Linked DNA regions of Homo sapiens: region 2 is linked to region 1. Evidence: promoter capture Hi-C in 16 types of primary human blood cells and fetal thymus (Javierre and others, 2016). All regions are on one chromosome and are shown on one strand. The core of a region is centred on a gene start or on the middle of the fragment in contact, and the rest is flanking DNA. Distances in the headings are between cores, read along the strand shown.

Region 1 (3,432 bases), core at 55-2,554:
GAAGCCAAGCTCTCCCAGGCAGACTGGCCGGGAGCTTTGCAGTCGGGGGCCCCACACTTACGACTTGTAGCAGTGGCCTGCTGATACCACCCACTGTTCGTTGATGAGGGAGCCACCACAGAAGTGGTAGCCAGAATTCAGGGACACCTGGTAGGGGACAGAATTCTCCTCACAGTTGTAGCCCCCAACGATCTTGTCATCATCATCAAAGGGGGCAGCAACTGGAGTGGAGATGGGAAGGGAGAAGGCAAGTCAATAGCATGTTAGGGGTGGCGCTCCCAGCCTGTGATTGCTTTCTGCTAATTAGAAATCCTTAACAAGCACAGTGAGGCTAGGCAAGGGAGGGAGCTCTGCCACCCCTGGTGATCATCACTGCCTGTGGCTCCCAAGTCTCTGTGCCTGCAGGGCACATAGCTAGGTACCCTGCGGAGGATCCGAGCTCTCCTGGGGTCACCAGGCTGAAGTCGCAAGGAATGTCCTCACAATGCTTCCAGTGGGATAGGAGTTGGGATGTGGTTGTCTCTCCCACTGAGTGCTTCTCTCTTTTATTCATCACCTGTGTACTTCCCCTGGCTATTTGGGCCCTGGATTGTCAGGATTCTTTTGCCAAGCTAGGAAAACCCCCTGTCTGCATAGACCTGGCCATGACCACCTTCCCCCATAGCTCAGATCTGTGCAGTCAGGGCAGAGTTGAGGGCAGCCCCCAGGCTCACTTTGGCAGAACAAAGGTAGACTTTGTTATTGGCCAATAGGACAGCAATTCTTAACCTTGGCTGCATGGCTGGAAATATTAAAAATCACCTGGGAAGCTTAAAAGCCCAGAACACAAGCTCTACCCCAGACAATTGAAGTTAGAATTTCTAGAGCTGAGTCTCTGGCATGAGTAATTTTTCAACCTCCCCAGGTGCATTCGAGGTTAGGAGCAGCTATAGTGGTGCTATTCTGTTGCTGTTGGAGCCAAGCCTGAAGCCTGCTGCTTCATTTCGTGGGACAGCCCCACCTGGCCCCCTTCCCAGCTTCTCCAACCACAACTCGGATATGGATGAATGACAGTGGTGGGAGTGAAGTCAAGGAGAAGGTGAACAGGTGAGACTTAAAAAGAGCCCAAGGAGGATGGGAAGGAGATATGCCAGATGGAGGAAACGGAATATCAGAGCACAGTCAAAAGAGGAGAGGTGGTAAGAATGGAAGGGCATTTGTCGGCCAGGAACGGGGGGGTGGTTGGGGCCTGAGGCAGGGCATGATACTCACGAGCAGCTGCCACAAAGGTAAGGATCAGGAGTGGATTCATGGTGGTAGAGTGTGCCTGACTGGTGGTGGAGGACTCGTCTTTATACCTCACGAGGATCCAGAGAGGAGGTGACTGTGAGGTGAGGGTCACCACTCCTCCCAGCACAAACACACCTGCAGCTTTCCTCTTCCCAGGGTCTTGCATCAGCCTGGCTATGTTTGGCCACTCTCTGGGTTTGTGATTCACAGGTGATAAGGAAACTTTCCTTCTGAGAGCAGAGAGCGAGACCGGCTGTTTCCTGCAAGGATACTGGGATGGGGAAGACAGGGAAAGTCAAGCCCCAGATAACAGAGCTGGGCTTTCTTAGGCCCTGGAGATGAGGGTTAGAAGGAGGGAGAATGGCCTAGCTGTTTACAAATCTTTCCACCTATTGGGAATGTATTTAATGTACTTAAGGAAGGGCAAGCATTGGTAAAAAGCTTGGATTTCAGTTTCCTGGGGCCCACATGAGAGGAGCAAAGTCTTATCTAAGGCTCATTCCTGTGAATATGAAGATGCTTCTCTCCAGTCAGTGTGCAGGAAGGTCAAATGCAAGATTTTGGGGAATGAAAATTCCAACACTAAGGGGTAAGGAGAAGGGAGACTCAGCATTCCATAGGATTCTGGGCTTCCAGATTTCTCTCCTTCCTACCAAGGCTTAAGGATGGGAAGTGTTTCAAAGAAGGAGGGGGCACAGTTTCTGTAGGAGCTTTCTCAGTGCCTCTGGAGGATGGAAAACCAATGGCGCACTCCTCCCCTTCTTCAATGTGAAGACATTTGTCTCTCTCATGTGCATCCTGTCATAGGTTCTTTTTATGCAGCCTCACTGTTGTCCTTGCAATCTGCACTCAGGTGATGCAAACTGACCCACCTGCTCAGGGCTGACAGTCTGAACCAGAATGATCAGATGATCATTTTCTATTTTCGATGCAGTGAGATTATGCTTGGCTCAGTACAAAGTGAATCTTCCTAGAGAATATCCTGATTTGGGCCCTACCAAGGCTACTAAGACACAGTTGTGTAATTGACTGAGGCACAACCTGGCCAGAGCAGTGTGGAAATGGAGATGCTGTCTGTGCTCAAGTCTAATGATGTAGGGAAAGGAGGAGCTTCCTTATGAGGGTGCTTTCCCTTCTCAGCAACTCTGAGCTCAGGCTGGTGATGGGCAGGAGTAAGTAGAGTTCAAGTTTGGATTCTTTGAAAGGTAAAAGAAGCAGAAATGTTCTAGAGACGGTGGACAAAATGGGAAAAGCTCAGAAACTTGGTGTTGAAATCGGACCTGGCCAGGGGGCTAGAGGGAGGAAGCAAATGGAAACCAGAGGGAATTGGAAATAATGCCAAAGTGGGGCCCATGGTGTTGAGAGGACACACAGAGTACCTTCGGTTTCAGCTCCTGGTATGGCTGCTGAGCCAGCTTCCCCACAGCCAGGAGACCCACTGCTTGGAGACCCCCTCTCCGCCTCGCACCCCCTCTAATCACTAATGGGCCCATACCTAACACTGCTATGCTTAGATGGTGCACAGTGCCTGACAACTTTACAAGAGTTTTCATGTAAGCAACAGTGGTACATTACTTTTCATTTATGCTGAGTTTCACACTTTAACTTCCCACAAACATGCTAATTGTAATTTGTGCAGAGCAAAATTGTTTCCATTTATAGAGCAAGAGACTGAGATTCAGAAGGATTCTGTCTTGCCCAAGAATACAGATCTTGGCAGAGCTGACCATAAGGCCAACAGAAGCCATGGAGAGCATTGTGAAGTGTGGGAATTTCATCTAAGAGGAGGTATCTAAAAGGAGATTTATTGAGGATCAAGACAGAGGTCCCTAGAGGACAAACTGTACATCTGATTCCTTCCTGGTGCTTTTCTTCCTGGTAGAAATGGATGATTGAATTTATCTTTCTCCTGGCACCTAGTCTCAGAGCATTACCATGCCACAGTTCGAGACCCATCCAGGCCATGACTGCCATGTAGATGACAAACTTCTCTGCTCACGAATAACTTGCCAAGCCTGAGGTAGCCAGGTTTTGGAGCATTGATAAAATGGGCTTTTCCTTTGTTGTCCCTGAACATGTTGTTTCATTTTGTCCCTTGTCATGGGGTCTTCACAGAACACCTGCCTTAGAGGATAAGGAGAGACTCCTGCTCTAACAACTGTA
Region 2 (3,331 bases), core at 569-3,068, 69 kb after region 1:
AAAAGGTTCTGGAAAGTTCTATTCTCTCCTCCTCTGAAAGAAGTTCTTTCTCAGAATAGGGTGGAGCCTCTTGTGGGTGGGCACTCCTCCCTTTGAGACTGCCATTTTGTGAGGTGAGCACATGCCTGTGCAGTGCTGTGGAGTGACGGTACAAGGACACAGGGACATCTGAAAGGGAGTTGCAGATTTCAGAGCCAAAGAGAACTTCTATTTTTTGCCAGGAAATATTTTCAATAGGGATATGTCTCTAATCAACAATGTCAATGTTAACTGAATAATGAGTCGGCTCTAATTCCAACCCTGATTCTTGTGAAAACCAGTATGAAATCTTGGCACTTATCTTGAGAACTCCTTTCCTGTCTCTGCAATCAGGTGTCTTAGAGTCTAGGTGGCTTCAGCTTCTACGAGCTGGGGTTTATGAGCTGAGGGGACAGAAGACAGAAAGAGAGCCAAGGAGAGAGCCTGGTGCTGCAGACTCCAGGAAGGAACCTGGGCTGTGGGCAGGCAAGCTCAGAATAAGAATTTCCCAAATGTTTCCAAGACTCACTGCCCCCAGGAAACAAAAGTACATGCAAGGGAGGAATAACCAGCTATGGTGGAATGAAGAGGTCAGCAAAGTTCCCCATAAAATAAGTATAAAACTCAAACAATTCTCATCAAAAGGCAGGAATTTTCTTTTTTCCTTAGGAGTAAAAGCTATTTGTTTCTGTACCAAGAGTAAGGCACACATGTTTTCATGGCTGTGGGCTATGAATAGTAATTTGAATTATATTTTATGCAAACACTTGTTTAATGCACATTTCAGTATAAGCCAAAATTACTATAATTTTGTTACTACAAAAATTTTTATATTATACTGCTATATAAGCTTAGTTGAAAGCTATCTCATTTCTTTATTATTTATTTAAAATTGACAAATAGAAATTATATATATTTATTGTATACAATGTGATATTGTGACATTTTAATATATGTATACATTGTGGAATAATTAAATCAAGCTAACATATGCATAATCTCACATACTTATTTTGTTTTGACTTTTTTTTGGTAGGAACATTTAAAATCTACATTCTTAGCAATTTTCAAGAGTACATATATTATTAACTATAGTAATCATGCTGCATATTAGGTCTCTAGAACTTCTTTCTGTCTGATTAAAACATGTACCTTTTGACCAACATTTCCCTATTTCCTATGCCTCCCTTCCTGAAACCCCATCCCAGTGCTTGGCAATTACCCTTCTACTCTCTGCTTCTGTGGGTTTGACTTTGTTGGATTCCATGAATAAGTGAGACCATGCATTATTTGTTTTTCTGTGCCTGAATTATTTCACTTAGCATAATGTCTCCAGGTCCAAACATGTTGTTGCAAATTATATGATTGCCTTTTTCTGTAGGGTTGAGTATTATTCCATTGTGTGTGTGTGTGTATGTGTGTATGTATACACATATACGTATAAATAATATATATATTTATATATACATATACAGAATTTATATCATATATTCTTCATCTAGTCATCCCTTGGTGGAAACCTAGGTTAATTCTGTATTTTGGCTATGTGAATAATGCTTCAAGGAACACAAGAGTACATATATTTATTCAACATACAGATTTCATATCCTTTGGATTTATATCTAGAACTGGAATTGCTAGATTATATGATAGTTCTATTTTTAATTTTCTGAGGAACCTCCATACTGTTTGTCAAAATGGCTGTACTAATTTACATTCTGTATTAGGTCAGGGTTCTCTAAAGGGGCAGAACTAATAGGATAGATGAAGAGGAGTTTATTAAAGGGTATTTACTCATACAAACACGAGGTAAAGTCCCATAATAGGTCTTCTGCCATCCGAGGAGCCAGGAAGCCAGTCTGAGTCCCAAAACATCAAAAGTAGGGAAGTTGAGAGTGTAGTCTTCAGTCTGTGGCCGAAGGCCCAAGAGCCCCTGGCAAATCACTAGTTTAAGTCCAAGAGTCTAAAAACTGAAGAACTTGGAATCCGATGTTTGAGAGCAGGAAGCATCCAGCATGGGAGAAAGATGAAAGCCAGAAGATTTAGACAGTCTAGTCCTTCCACATTCTTCTGTCTGCTTTTATTCTAGCCATGCTGGCAGCTGATTAGATTGTACCCACCCATATTGAGGGTGGTCTGCCTTTCCCAGTCCACTGATTCAAATGTTAATCTCCTTTGGCAACACCATCACAGACACACCCAGGAACAATACTTTGCATCCTTAATCCAACCAAGTTGACACTCAATATTAACCATCACACATTTCTGCCAACAATGTACATGATTCCCTTTTCTGCACATCCTTATCAATGCTTGTTATCTTTTGTCTTTGTAGTGTTAGCCAGTGTATCAGTTGTGAAGTGATATCTCATTGTGGCTTTAATTTATATTTCTCTGATAATTAGCAATGATAAACATTTATTCATTTGTATGCTTTCTCTTGAGAAATGTCTATTCAGGTCATTTGGCCATATGTTAATTGGGTTGTTTTCTTGCTAATGAGTGTGAATTTCTTATATATTTTGGATATTAATCCTTTTTCAGACATGTGGTTTGCAAATATTTTCTCCCATTTTGTAGCTTGCCTTTTTATTCTGTTGATTATTTCCTTTCCTTTCCTTTCCTTTCCTTTCCTGTGCAGAAACTTTTTAGTTTGATGTAATCCCACTTGTCTAATTTGGTTTTTGTTGCCTATGCTTTTGCAGTAATATCTAAAAATTGTTTACCAAGACCAGTATTAAGAAGCTTTTCCCCTATGTTTTCTAATAGTATTTTAAAAATTTCAGGTCTTATGCTTATGTCTTTAATTTATTTTGAGTTGATTTTATGTTGTAAAATAGAAAGACCAAAATCCAACTATTTTCTGACTATGGGAAATCACTTTAGTTTTAAAGACACAAATATATTGAAAGTAAAGTATGGAAAAGCATATGTCATATTAGTAACCATAAAAGCTTGAGTGGCTATATTAATATCAGAGAAATAAATTTTAAAGCAAAAAATATTATTACAGAAAAACACTTCATAATGATTAAAGTTTCAACCTATATATGTATATCAAATGATATAAAAAATATACAAAATATATATTCCTTCTATGTGTGTTTGTGCATATGTATTTTTTATATTTATTCACACATATATTTATCCTTTAAGGTGCTTTTAATTTCTTACTATGGATTTTAGTTGCTAACAATGTCATTTTCTCTCAGCTGGATGACTTCCTTTAATATTTCTTGTAAGACAGGTCTGCTAACCACACAATTCTGTAGCCTTTGTTTATCTGGGAATGTCTTTATTTCATTTTCATTTA

The links. Contacts are between HindIII fragments. The CHiCAGO score rates a contact against its expected background, and 5 or more counts as called.
Region 2: a contact is called between a fragment that was not itself captured here and the fragment with the promoter of PRSS1 in region 1, in 1 of 17 cell types (naive B cells). The highest score is 5.2, in naive B cells.

What each region holds. Positions count from the first base shown.
Region 1 is chr7:142,747,344-142,750,775 of GRCh38, reverse strand. PRSS1 (serine protease 1) reads right to left here and starts at 1,304. Exons shown (of 5, transcript NM_002769.5): 1 at 1,252-1,304; 2 at 62-221. The coding sequence starts at 1,291. It also overlaps TRB. The HindIII fragment of the contact is 901 bases long and covers 812-1,712 here.
Region 2 is chr7:142,678,679-142,682,009 of GRCh38, reverse strand. It overlaps TRB and the pseudogene TRBVA. Among named protein-coding and RNA genes, the nearest start is that of PRSS1, 69 kb to the left of the region's middle. The HindIII fragment of the contact is 1,895 bases long and covers 871-2,765 here.